Regions from separate parts of the Homo sapiens genome. Here all the other regions are linked to region 4. The links are contacts of gene promoters, found by promoter capture Hi-C in blood cells and fetal thymus (Javierre and others, 2016). All regions are on one chromosome and are shown on one strand. Each heading gives the region's core, a stretch centred on a gene start or on the middle of the fragment in contact. The rest is flanking DNA. Distances are from core to core; before and after follow the strand shown.

The links. Contacts are between HindIII fragments. The CHiCAGO score rates a contact against its expected background, and 5 or more counts as called.
Region 1: a contact is called between a fragment that was not itself captured here and the fragment with the promoter of SH3BP5L in region 4, in 1 of 17 cell types (megakaryocytes). The highest score is 5.6, in megakaryocytes.
Region 2: a contact is called between a fragment that was not itself captured here and the fragment with the promoter of SH3BP5L in region 4, in 1 of 17 cell types (megakaryocytes). The highest score is 7.1, in megakaryocytes.
Region 3: a contact is called between a fragment that was not itself captured here and the fragment with the promoter of SH3BP5L in region 4, in 1 of 17 cell types (monocytes). The highest score is 9.0, in monocytes.
Region 5: a contact is called between a fragment that was not itself captured here and the fragment with the promoter of SH3BP5L in region 4, in 2 of 17 cell types (megakaryocytes and erythroblasts). The highest score is 7.1, in megakaryocytes.

The regions. Positions count from the first base shown.
Region 1 is chr1:247,852,848-247,855,547 of GRCh38, reverse strand. No RefSeq gene overlaps it. Among named protein-coding and RNA genes, the nearest start is that of TRIM58, 3.0 kb to the left of the region's middle. RefSeq lists a cis regulatory region at 1-448. The HindIII fragment of the contact is 1,801 bases long and covers 461-2,261 here.
Region 2 is chr1:247,927,196-247,929,895 of GRCh38, reverse strand. The region is part of intron 1 of OR2AJ1 (olfactory receptor family 2 subfamily AJ member 1); the gene reads right to left. Among named protein-coding and RNA genes, the nearest start is that of OR2AJ1, 3.7 kb to the right of the region's middle. The HindIII fragment of the contact is 3,035 bases long and covers 1-2,700 here.
Region 3 is chr1:248,246,530-248,249,229 of GRCh38, reverse strand. No RefSeq gene overlaps it. Among named protein-coding and RNA genes, the nearest start is that of OR2M4, 16 kb to the right of the region's middle. The HindIII fragment of the contact is 1,774 bases long and covers 543-2,316 here.
Region 4 is chr1:248,824,543-248,827,242 of GRCh38, reverse strand. SH3BP5L (SH3 binding domain protein 5 like) reads left to right here and starts at 1,328. Exons shown (of 7, transcript NM_030645.3): 1 at 1,328-1,408; 2 at 1,877-2,490. The coding sequence starts at 2,308. It overlaps MIR3124 (microRNA 3124), which reads right to left and starts at 866; the gene lies at 800-866. RefSeq lists enhancers at 637-736, 807-856, 432-982, 967-1,226, 983-1,534 and 1 more. The HindIII fragment of the contact is 10,505 bases long and covers 1-2,700 here.
Region 5 is chr1:247,910,047-247,912,746 of GRCh38, reverse strand. No RefSeq gene overlaps it. Among named protein-coding and RNA genes, the nearest start is that of OR2T8, 8.9 kb to the left of the region's middle. The HindIII fragment of the contact is 6,306 bases long and covers 1-2,700 here.

The sequences.
Region 1 (2,700 bases), core at 112-2,611, 970 kb after region 4:
GCTGGCCAGCGGGAAGGGGGGCTCCGCAAGGCCGTGCCCCCAGAAGCCATGAAAGGTACAAGGTAAACTTCAGCAGGTGGGAGCAAGACATACCCAGATGACAGTGAGAAGCCAGGCAGGCTGGCAAGCTGGGCCAGAATATGGTGGCAGCAGATAAGGCTGCAGCAAGAGGCGGGGCCAGATGACTCAGGTCCTTGGGGATCCTCTGGGGTTTGTGGGTCTTCATTATAAGGACAAACTCTTGGGCTGGATCTCTGGCGACAGGCAGAGCAGAGGATCTTGAGGCCTAAAGGTTAAGTGCGCAATTAAAGCGAATAGATTCTTGGAGAACACACATGGATCTGTATTAGCAAAACACGAAAGATGTGGCATTAGAGAAAAAAGCTAAAGAGCAGAAGGCTTAGCAAAGAAAAACAGACTCTGGCTCCGGACTAAGGGCTGTGGCACTTGCTGAGAAGCTTGAGGCAAGCTGTGCCGCGTTTCTGCCCTGCATTTCTTCTGACGTGCAGTGAAGAGGTGTTAGTGTCATTCATATAAGGCCTTTCAGAGTATTAAACGAGCTAATAGATAGTAGACACTTAATATAGGTCCTGGCATGTTGGAAATACACACACACACACACACACACACACACACACACGTATATATATTGAGACAGGGTCTTGCTCTGCTGCCCAGGCTATAGTGTAGTGCCACAACCTGACTCACTGTAGCCTCTACCTTTCAGGCTCAAGTGATCTTCTCACCTCAGCCTCCCAAGTACCTGCGACTACAGGTGCCCGCCACCACGCCCAGCTAATTTTTGTATTTTTTGTAGAGACAGAGTTTCGCCCTGTTGCCCAGGCTGGTCTCAAACTCCTGGGTTCAAACAATCTCCCCACCTTGGCCTCCCAAAGTGCTGGGATTACAAGTGTGAGCCACCTCGCCCGGCCATGTAGCAAATATATTTAATTGAAGAAAAGGAAATGAAATAGTGAAGTGAATGGAAGGATGGTGAGTCAAAAGGTAAGCTACATTAGGAAGAGAGATTTTTTTCTATTTTGTTCACTGCTCTATCTATCCCCAGGACCTTGAAGAGTAACTGGCACAAATGGACACTCCACACATACTAACTGATTAAACAAGTTAATAAGTAAATGAACAGAATTAGGACAGTTTATCATAGGAGCTAATGAAAGAGGGAAGTTCAAAGATGATTATATTATGTCAAATGTCAAATCCATGTTTTTCTGCATTTTACATATATGATCTTGCCCTGGCTCTCCATAACTCTGGCAGATGCTGGAGCATTTTTCTATTTTGCAGGCATAACGAGACACAGTAAAACAATCCATTTACTCAAATATATGGGCCAGTTGATAACTAGGCTCACTTAAATTCAGATTTCCTAGTGCCTGTGATCCTAAGGAAAGGCCCCTGGCTTCTGACGTTGGGGGTCACTGTGGTTTTCAGTAGGGTGTGACGGAGTGGGCGAGCTCACTTCTTCCCCTGCTGGTCCTAGAGTTGCTGAGCTTAAACTGTTTTGTCTCTGACACTGGTTGACTAGGAATGACATCGGTACCATTGTTCTTAGAAACACACATTTCCCTTACAGCACGTCCATGCAGGTAAGTTGTGGACTGGATTATATCCAGATGTCATTGTATTTACAAATGCTATGTGGAGTGCCTCGCCAGGCAGTTTCTGGTTTAATGGGAATACTCTAACTTAAATTTGTATTTTCTCATGAGCTTTCTTTTGGCGTAAATAAAGCACCTCTTGGTTTATGCCAATACGACCAAATTCTAATGCACCCCACTCCTTAATTTATAGGCTAACTCCACCCTGTGACTCATTTACAGGTTGCAGAGTTGCAAATCTTTTAGCTAATACCACCTGCAACCATCCTCCTTCTCTAATATTCCTCTTCAGTTGTGTCCTGCCTTCTGTGACATCTTTAAAATATGGGATCTGCCGTCATCTGACCATTATTCCTCCCTGCTCTTTTTTGTAATTTCTTTGGTATCATGGCTTTGGGCTCCTGAAACCATTTCTTCAGGACAGCAATATTTTCTTCCCTACTTTGAACCCTTTTCACAGAGTTTCTCAGCTCTCCATGGCCAAACCCTTTGCCTCAGCTTTGGGGATTCACAATCTCCTAGCTCCATAGCCCCCAAATCAGCCCAATTTGTTACCAAAAACCAGGAGTTCGGTCTAGGTCCTGCTGCTCTCCACACAGAAAGCCAATCACTGAGACAACGATTATTGCCAAAGAAGAAGCTTTTAATCAGGTGCTGCAGCAGAGGAGATAGGAGCTCAGTTTCAAATCCATCTCCCTGACTGACTAAAATTAGAGGCTTATATAGAGGCAGGGAAGAAATAGCACACTGTGTGGAAAAAGAGGAACTAGGGAGGGGTAAGGAAGCAATCATGTTGAATAAGCGGACTGGACTGGCATCTCATTAACTGGTTGAGATGACCTGGGGTGATCCGGTAAGTTTCAGTTCTTTGTTACTTTACTTTTCAAGAGGGCTGGTGGTCCTTTCCTGAGGAAGGAACTCAGATAAAACAAAAGTAAGTTTCAAGCTCTAAGACCAGAAGGGTCAAATTCTCTCTCTCTCTCTCTCTCTCTCTCTCTCTCTCTCTCTCTGTGTGTGTGTGTGTGTGTGTGTGTGTGTGTGTGTCTATAGGACTATTGGGTTGGCAAATTCACAATGCCAA
Region 2 (2,700 bases), core at 51-2,550, 900 kb after region 4:
CTCAAACATTTTATTAAGAAAATAACAATATCATCAATACCCTACTGCTTTGAAGAGATAAACAGGAAAATTTAATGGAAATGCAATATCCCAAAAATATTTCATTTTTTTGTCTTACATGAAACACCAGATATGAAATTATATCTGAAATATCCATTAAATTATGTCTGAAATGAATTTCTATGAAATGAAGATCATGACAGTACCTGCCTGATAAAGTTGTTTTGAATATTAGATGAGACTCATTAAATACCCCCACTGCAAACACACACACACACACACACACACACACACACCGAGTGAAGGGGGGGAATAGAGCCTGGCACACAGTCAATACTCAGGATGATTATTATTGCTACTACTATTATTACTATATTAGTATTCCTATAATTACTATATTCTTACTCTTTTTTGTTTCTTAAATACACATGTAAGGGGTTATATACCAGGGGAGGGAGAAAATGAGATAGCTAGGGAGAGGAAAAGAGGGGCAGGAAGGAAAGGAATGAAAGAAGAGAGATTCAGGATATGATAGAATGTAGCTATGTAAAGCAAAGTACAATATAATGCGTGAATCAGAAGTATATTTTGTACTCACTGTCCAGAAAATTGACTCATTAAGCTAGGGAGAAAGAAACTCACCACACTGAATGAGAATGTTTAGGTCGGCTTCCTCACCCACATGCGCACATGAAAATGAGTGTGAAAGAGCAAATGAAGACTTTGAAATCAAATAATCTGAGCTGCTTACAATCTCATTTTATGCCAGCCATTTGATGTTTTAATTCACCATTTTTTTTGGCCCTTCTAACTTTTCAATTCCATACAATCATTACGGAGTGAGTGACCACATGTCTTCTCCTTGTTACTGCCACCTGATTTAAGGGATTCCTATAATTACTGTCTCCCAAGGAGCTGGGACTACAGGCGCCCACGACCACGCCCGGATAATTTTTTTTATTTTTAGTAGAGACGGGATTTCACCGTGTTAGCCAGGATGGTCTCGATCTCCTGACCTCGTGATCCGCCCGCCTCGGCCTCCCAAAGTGCTGGGATTACAGGCGTGAGGCACCGCGCCCGGCCCATCCTGTTTCTTTAGCATATGGATATGATGATGTATGTTCCTGAAATGTTCCTGTAACCATTTCATAGGGACAAAACTCAAGGGATTAAGGAGCCGAAGACTGTCTGCTACCAGGCAATTTCCTGTTGATCACCAATCACAAAAGCTGCCCTGATTGGCCAAAATCAACACTTGCTTCTTATGAAGAAATTAAAAATGATGCTTGTTTTAAGGGAAATGCTTCAACATCGGTCTCAGAAAAGATTTTATCTCTAAGACTTCAAGGGCACAGGCAACAAGATAGAAACACACAAATGGGGCTACATTAAACTAAACACCTTCTGCACAGAAAAGAAAACATTCATCTCAATGAAAAAACACCCTGCAAAATTGAAGAAAATATTTGCAAATTATTCTTCTGACAAAAGATTAATATATAGTATATGCGAGGAACTCAATAGCAAATAAAACCCCATAATCCAATTGAAAATAGGTAAATGATCTAAATACCCATTTCTCAGAAGAAGACATAAAAATAGCCAAATATTTGAAAAAATGTTCAACATCACTAATCATAAGGGAAATATAAATCAAAACCAAAATGACATATAATTTCACTGCAATTAGAGTGGTCATTATCAAAAAAGACAAAAAATAACAAATGCTGGTGAGGATGTAGAGAAAGAGACATCTTATACAGTGTTGATGGGAATGTAAATTAGTATAGCTATTATAAAGAACACTATGAAACTAAAAATATAGATCTATCATATGATCCAGCAATTCAACTACTGGGCATATATCCAAAGGAAAGGAAATTAGCCTATTGAAGGGACATCTGTACCTCAATGTTTAGTGCCACACTGTTCACAATATCCAAGATATGGAATCAACTACATGTTCATCAACCAATGAATAGTTAAAGAAAATGTGGTATGTATACACAATGGAATACTATTCAGTCATAAAAAGAATAAAATCTTGTAGTTGGTGGCAACATGGATGAGCCTGGATGACATTATGTTGAGTTCAATAAACCAGGGCACAGAAGGATGTATACTACATGTTCTCATTCATATACAGAAGGTTAAAAAACCTGATCTCATAGAGGTAGAGAGTAGAATGGTATTTACTCGAGGCTGGGAAACACGAGGGCCTAAGAGAAGAGAGAGAAGTTGCTCAATGAGTACAAATTTATAACTATGTTGGAAGAATAAGTTCTAGTGTTCTATAGCACTCTAGGATGATTATCGTTAATGATAATTTTTTCTATCTTTTCAAATAGCTAGAAGAAAGGATTTTCAATGTTCCCAACACACACACACACACACACACCCCCTAAATGTTTAAGGTGATTAATATGCTAATAACCCTGATTTGATCATTAAACTTTGTATGTATCCAAATATCACTCTGTACCCCATAAATTTGTACAAGAATTGTGCATCAATTAACTTTTTAAATCCTTGTTTAATGTTGAAGTCCCTACTGACCAGGTCTCTGTTACTGATGATAGAACTGAATTCTCTCTTATTATGCACTTAATGCTGTCAGAAAAAAGAAAACGATTTTCTTATTATAGTGCAGGTGATTGAAAAAAACTGAGATGATTTCTAGAAATTAGGGAAATGTCTTTT
Region 3 (2,700 bases), core at 180-2,679, 580 kb after region 4:
GTGTGTCTGTTTTTCTGTGAAATAACTGCTCATATATTTTTCTTATTTTTCAGTATATATATATATATATATATATATATGAAGTTGAATCAAATAATATTATTAAATATAGGTGTATATTTATTTAGTATACTGTTTCATCTTAGTGCATAACTAGAATTTCCACCTATTTGAGGTATCTATCAATGGACAAAGTTTAAAATTTTTAACTTGGTCAAATTTGTCAATGATTGTATTTATAGTTATTACTTTATATGACTTGCTTAAGAAATTGATGTCTGCTCGGGAACATTTGCCTATAATTTAAAACAAATATTTGTTGTGTTTTCAATATGTGTTTTTAATACAGTTGAGGTTGATTTTTGTACATTGTTCAGTAGGAACTAAATTTAATATATCTCCCTATAAGTAATATTTTCTCAATAATTTTATTAAAATTAAGTAGATTTACATTTGTTCAAAAAGTGGTATTATTTGAGGCCGATTAATTGTAATAAAAATTAGTCACAATAATGTATAATGTCTTACATCCAAATGAAGCTTACTTCTTGTTTTTGTAGCAGTGTTGGAAGTGTGGACATGTACTGCTTGTTGGTGCAGCTTCAGGGACCTAGGAAGACAGAGTCCCTGCCTGGGTTTCCTCGGGACATCTCCATTGAACAGCCACAGTGAAAAATATAATGTGCAAGAAAGCATCTCGGGGAGTGTTTCTCTTTTTCCTCCGTTTCTTCCTCCCTTCCTCCCTCTGTCACTCCCTTTTTTTCTTTTGCTGAAATACCCATATTTCTTTTAAAAATTTTTAATTTTTGAAAAATAGAGCACCACATCAAAGAAAAAAAAATTAAGGAACTACCAAGGATCAAAAAAATCTTGTTTCATATTTATCCACCCAACAAATCTAAATGCATTTAATGTTTGTGGAGTTTTGTTTTGTTTTGAGATGGAGTCCTGCTCTGTTTCCCAGTGCAGTGGTACGATCTCAGCTCACTGCAACCTCTGCCTCCCGGGTTCAAGCGATTCTCCTGCCTCAGCGTCCTGAGTAGCTGATTATAGGTGTGTGCCACCATGTCTGGCTAATTTTTGTATTTTTAGTAGAGATGGGTTTCACCTTGTTGGTCCGGCTGGTCTTGAACTCCTGACATTGTGATCTGCCTGCCTTGGCCTCCCAAAGTGTTGGGATTACAGGCGTGAATCACCGTGCCTGGCCATTTGTTTAGACATCTTATCACTTCTTCATTATACCTAATCTTGAATTCATAGTTTCTTCCTTTGTACTTAACCACAATACCTTATCACACAAATACAATTAACAGTATTTCCACAATGTCATCTAATAGGACATCTGTAAGCACATTTCTTAATAATCTCAATAATCTCATGTCTTACAATTGACTTATTTGGATGAAGACACCCACACACAAAAAAAACGCCGCATGTTGCCAGTTGAGGTTTCTAATTACACATGAATTTCCAGCCGGCACTCTGAGCAGCAACCACATTCCTTCAATCTCCATAGAAGGTCACTCTGTCTATGTGTACACAGACTAGAAGTGCCAGAGAATAAAAATCGCCAGCAGAGAAGCCCCCGAACAACCCTGGTGAAAATCAAGTTCTGTCTCCTCTCTCACAGGCAAGAATGATTCTCAAGGGTGTGCATTTTATATACTTTCTCAGAAGTGAGCCACAGGATTAGGTTGGATTTGCCCTCTGTAGTAGCTTACTCAATAAAACACGCTTTATTAACTTCCTTTCCTTCTCTGTATTAATTCTTTATAAATATAGACTTTTCCAGATAAAGAAAAGCTGAGGGATTTCATCAACACCAGACCTGTCTTACAAGAAATGCTAGAGAGAGTTCTTCAACATGAGAGAAAAAAAGTATTAATGAGCATCTGAAGGTACAAATCTCTCTGGTAATGGTAAGTACACAGGAAAAGACAGACTATTACAATACTGTAATTGTGGTGTGTAAACTACTCATATCTTAAGTAGAAAGATGAAAAGATGAACCAATCAAAAATGATATCTACAACAACTTTGTAAGACATAGACAGTACAATAAGATATAAACTGAAACAACAAAAAGTTACAAAGTGAAGGTATGAAGTTAAAGTGTAGAGGGTTTTTTTTTAAGTTCCTTTTTGCTTGCTTCTTGTTTGATTGTGAAATCAGGGTTACGTTGGTCATGAATTTTAAATAATGGGAGATAAGATATTACTCCCAAGGCTCACAATAATTTGAAATGTAAAAATACACAACAAGCACAGGCAACTGAAGCAAAAATGGACAAATAAGATCACATCAATTTAAAAAGCTTCTGCATAGCATAGGAAACAATAAAGTGAAGAGAAAACCCACAGAATGAAAGAAAAAATTTTCAAACTACTCATCTGACAAGGGATTAATAACCAGAATATATAAGGAGCTCAAACAACTCTATAGGAAAAAATGTATTAATCCAATTTAAAAATGGGTGAGAGTTGAATAGACATTTCTCAAAAGAAGACATACAAATGGCAAACAGGTATATGAAAAGGTGCTCAACATGTTGATCATAAGAAATGTGTAAATTAAAACTACAGTGAGATATCATCTCACCCCAGGCAAAATGACTTTCATATAAAAGAAAGGCAATACCAAATTATGCCAGAATGTGGAGAAAAGGGAGCCCTCCTACACTGCTAGTGGGAATGTGAATTA
Region 4 (2,700 bases), core at 79-2,578:
TCTCTTGTACTCGGGGGTGGGGGTGGGGCGGAGGTTGCAGTGAGCCAAGATCGCGCCATTGCACTCCAGCCTGGGCAACAAGAGTTAAACTCCGTCTCAAAATAAATAAATACATAAAAAAGCACTCTAACTTCTATAGCTGCTAGCTAGCAGACACATCTGGCCGAATCGCATCTATGCCAATCAAATCTGTAATTTTTCACTTCTCCAACACTATTGAGCCCTGATCACCTTCCTTCCTTCATTCTCCCTTTGAAATGCCCAGTCACTTCTGTACAAATCGGAACAGAGGTCAGTTCTTTTCCTTTCTGTAAGTAGTTACTGAAAAAAGTCTTTTTCACTGCTTCAATGTCTAGCTGGGTTGTCTTTGACAGGATCCAAAAAGGAGGGGAATTCAGCCCATTTGCCTTTTCCATCTGCAGGGCAAAGTTTTGAGTTGACTCTGAGGAAGTTACGCCTTTTGTAAAAACAAAACATCCAACCCTGAATGAAGCCCTTCCCCTTAGGCCTAGGCCCTCCCCTCACCAAGCGACACCTAGAGGTGACAAGCAGGCGCTCGCTCAGGGACCTAGGTAACGATACACAATGCCATGTAACAAACTCCTGCTCATCGAGGGCATCTGACCCTGGGTGCACGAGTGAATTAACTGAGTTAATGTTGACTAAGTTCCTGGTTAGTATTCACGGAGCAATTGGTGACCCCACCAAAACGTCGTTCAAGGTGCAAGGTCCAGAGGCCTCGAGGAGTGGGATTTACACATCGGAGCCGTCCGCTCAGACGCCGTTAGTGGAGGGTTCCGCCGACTTCACGGGAGTGAGGAAAGTCACTTTTGGAAATCGACTTTGCCTTCGCCCGCGAAGCCCGCCAGCGTCCGGACTCGAGTTGCCCCCGGAGCCACTGCCGGAAGTTTACCAGCTCACTTTCGGCGTCGCGCCCGCCTCCGTGGAGCAGGCCGGAAGTGGCTTTCCGGCAGCCGCCGCCGCAGCTCCGTAAAGCAAGATGGCACTACTCACTCTGAGGCTATTATCTCCGTTTTATATCTAGTATTCCTCTTCTCACCAGTTACTCTCGATTTCCGTCCCGCGCCCTAATTTTCTTCAGCACCACATTCTCATGTTTTTCTTTCATTCAGCCTTGGTGGAGTATGGTCTGGAGGCAACCTACGGCTAGCCTGAGCAACGTGGGGCACCATTTTGTACGGAAACTGAAGGCAGGGCGGGGGAGTGTGAGGCCTCCCGAGGAGGCCCGGCTTGAGAGAGAGCGTGGGAGGGAGAGCGTTGTTCACCGATGATGTATTTCCGCTTCTGGTCTGCCTGGTCGTTTTTGGTTGGATCGGCTTGTTGCGGGGAGGGAGGGGGGGAGATTGTTTGCAGCATAGAAGCTCCGCGGACGGGAAGGTAAACTGAGGTAAGGCTGTGCGGGGGGCTTTTGCGCATGGCTGGGTAGAATGGACGGGAGTAGGGTCCTTGGGATTGCGGAAGAGTGTGGAATTGGAGACGGGAGGCTTAGATGTCTCGGGTTGGACAGAGAAGGTGGGGTGGGGCTCGGGGTTACAAGGTGAATCGCAAAGCCGGGCTGGGGTGGAGTGGGACGAGCGGGAGACCACAGGAGATGGAGGAGAGCCTAGGGGTGCAGAGGAAAGTCTCGAAGGCGCTGGTTGAGGAGGGCCTGGGTCGAGAGGAGCTGGGACGGGGGAAGAGTAGAATCTAAAGTCCTTGAGGGCTAAGGAGAGAAGTTGAGGTAGGGACTGGTCGGAATACATGGGTGGGGGCGTGGTGAGAGTGTAGTTTTTGGGAGGCTGTAGAGTTGGAAGGGGCTGGTGGCTGCGGTTTTGATGCTGACATGACCATATACTTGGCCTTTGTTTCTCTGCAGCTCCCCAGAGACGCTCATCCTACAGCCTCAGCTCGGGCCCAGCCTTCTCTCTCCAGCTGCCACCACAGCCTGGAGGCGCCTGCCTCCACCCTCCCGAATGGTGCTCCTCCTAGCAGGCCTCGGTCCAGGATCCAAGCCCCCTTTGCCCCCTGCCTTGGAGCTGTTGCTCCGGGTTTGTCACAGTGGACTCCCTGTGGCGGGAAGGGAAGAACTTTTGCACAGACAAGGCTTCAGCTCTAGGAACCCCACTGACAACTTGAATCTCAACCTCTAACCTAGTGTGAGGTTCTTCCTGTGCCCACCTTTTCTGCCTTTTGAGAAGAGAAACTCTTCTCCTGGCCATCTAGAGCCCAGGAAGCCCCAAGCTGGGGCCCTGGTCCCAGCATGTCAGTCCTCTCTTGTGCATAGGGCTCTGCCCTCCCCCTGTCAGCATGGCTGAGCTCAGACAGGTTCCAGGAGGGCGGGAGACCCCACAGGGGGAGCTGCGGCCTGAAGTTGTAGAGGATGAAGTCCCTAGGAGCCCAGTCGCAGAAGAGCCTGGAGGAGGTGGAAGCAGCAGCAGTGAGGCCAAATTGTCCCCAAGAGAGGAGGAAGAACTGGATCCTAGAATACAGGTGAGAGCACTGAGAGCAGGGAGAGAAGGAGAGCCCAGATTCCAGCCTCCCTGAAGAGTGTTGGATGAATGAGGGCTTAGACTTACTCTGTCCCCAGTCTGCTGGGGCAGGAAAGGAGAACAAGTTTGTCAACAAATCATTGCAGGGTAATGTAACAAGTTCCAAAAGAGTTGTGTGTCTGAAGTGCTGATGGAGTGCAGAGAAAGGCCT
Region 5 (2,700 bases), core at 198-2,697, 910 kb after region 4:
TCATTACAAAATGCAAAATCCCAGCATTTTGCATTCATCATATAATTGACCTTCCAAACAACGTTATGAAAGTGTGCTTTCTACTATCCTATATACAACCTCAGGAGTTACTTTAAGTTAATTTTGGAAGAAATGTAGAAGAAAAGAAAAACAAAGAAAGGAAAGAAACCCTTGGAATCTTTCTACTGGGCTACCATAAATAAGGACAATCATTCAAATTTTGGCTCAAGAAATAGAAATAAATTTTCATTGAGTAGTTTCTTCTCTACCATGTAGCTAATTGTCACGCATTAAGATCTTCTCAATTTAGAGACTCAGTCTGAAGCCATATGAGGCGATTTATGTAAGCAACTTACATTGTCAGTTCCACATTCTTCCTTCCTCATTGAGTTTATTTATGAGACTGAATTAATTAAATCACAAATTAAAATAAGAAACTTCAAGAATAGCACTTACATGATTTCTTCTAATTTAAAATGTATTCTTTGGCCGGGTGCAGTGGCTCACGCCTGTAATCCCAGCACTTTGGGAGGCCGAGGCGGGCAGATCACGAAGTCAGGAGATACAGACCATCCTGGCTAACAGGGTGAAACCCCGTCTCTACTAAAAAAAAATACAAAAAATTAGCTGGGCGCGGTGGTGGGCACCTGCAGTCCCAGCTAATTGGGAGGTTGAGGCAGGAGAATGGCGTGAACCCGGGAGGCGGAGCTTGCAGTGAGCCCAGATCGCACCACTGCACTCCAGCCTGGGCCACAGAGTGAGACTCTGTCAAAAAAAAAAGAAGAAAGAAAAAGAAATAATATCACAGGGTGTTGTAATATCATCCCCTTTCCATCTGGATATTAGAAACAATATCACAGAGGGGTTGTACACCTTTTGCGATATTACAGTAATATCATCCTCTACCCTCCTGGATATTAGGAACATCATCACAGGGGAGACGTACAGCCCCTGCAATATTGGGAATAATATTATCCTCCCTTCCCCTGGATATTGCGAACATTATCAACGTGAGGGTGTACACACCCTGCGATATTAAGAGTGATATCATTTCCTCACGCCCTGGATATCAGGAACAATACAACAGGGGGGTACACCCCCTTCGATAGTGGGAATTGTATCATCCTTTTCCCCCGTGGATATTACAGAGGCGGTGTACACCCTCTGCGACATTGGGACTAATATCATCCCGTCCCCCCCGGTTATAAGGAACAATATAAGAGGGGGAGTGTACAGCTCCTGCGATATTGGCAATAATATCATCCTCTCCCCCCGTGGATATTAGGAATACTGTCATAGGAGCGGTGTACACCCCCTGCAATATTGGAAGTATTATTGTTTTTTCGCCTGGATATTAGAAACAATATCCCAATAAATATTGTTTGTAATATCCAGGGGGGAGAGAAGGGTGATATTACTCCCCATATCGCGGGGTGTGTATACCCTTCTGCAATATTGGGGTAATATCATCCTCTCGCCCCCTGGATATTAAAAACAATATCACAGGAGGAATGTACACAGCCTGTGATACTAGGAATAATATCCTCTCATTCTTTGGATATTAGGTACAATATCACAGGGGGTGTACATGCTCCGCGAGACTGGAAGTAGTATCATCCTCTCTTTCCCTGAATATTACAAACAATATCACAGCAGGGCATACACCTTCTGCGATACTGAGAGTAATACCAACCTCTCCCCTGCTGGATATTACGAACGATACAAGAGGGTGGTGTACACATGGGGTGTTCAGGATATTGGGAGTAATATCATCCTCTTTCTCCATGAATATTACGAACAATGTCAGAGGGGGGTGTACAGCCCCTGATATTAAGAGTAATGTCATCTTCTCCTACCCTGGATATTAAGAACAACATTAAATGAAGGTGTACACTCCCTGGGATATTGGGAATAATATCATCCTCTTTCCTTCTGTATATTACGGACAATATCACAGGGGGGTGTATATCCCCTGCAATATTGCAAATAATATTATACTCTCCCACCCTTAATATTACCAACACTATCACAGGAGGGTGTACACCCCCTGTGATATCAGGACTAATGTCATCGTCTCCCCACCTTGGATATTACAAACAATATCACAGGGGGGTGTACACCCCTTGCGATATTAAGAGTAATATCATCATCTCCCCCTCTGGATATCATCGTCTTCCGCCCCCCGCCCCCCCGCCGGATGTTAGGAAAATATCAGAGGGTGGTTGTACAGCCCCCTGCAATATTGAGAGTAATATAATCCTCTTTCCCTGGATATTAGAAACAATATCACAAGGGGGTATGTACACTCCCCACAATATTGGAGGTAATATCATCCTCTTTCCTCATCACCTACTGTGATATGTTTCATAATATCCAGTGAGGGAGAGAAAGGTGATATTTCTCCTTATATCGTGGGGGCGTACACACCCCTGTGATATAGATTGTAATATCTAGAGAGGGAAGAAGAATTATATTACTCCCCATATTGCGGGGGTGTCCACCTCCCTGTGATATGGTTCATAATATCCAGTGGGAGAGACATGATATTACTCCCCATATCATTAGGGGGTACACCTCCTTGTGATGTGATTCATAATATCCAGGGGAGGAGAGAAAGGTGATTATCTCAATAGATGCAGAAAAGGCCTTTGACGAAATTCAACAATCCTTCATGCTAAAAACTCTCAATAAATTAGGTAT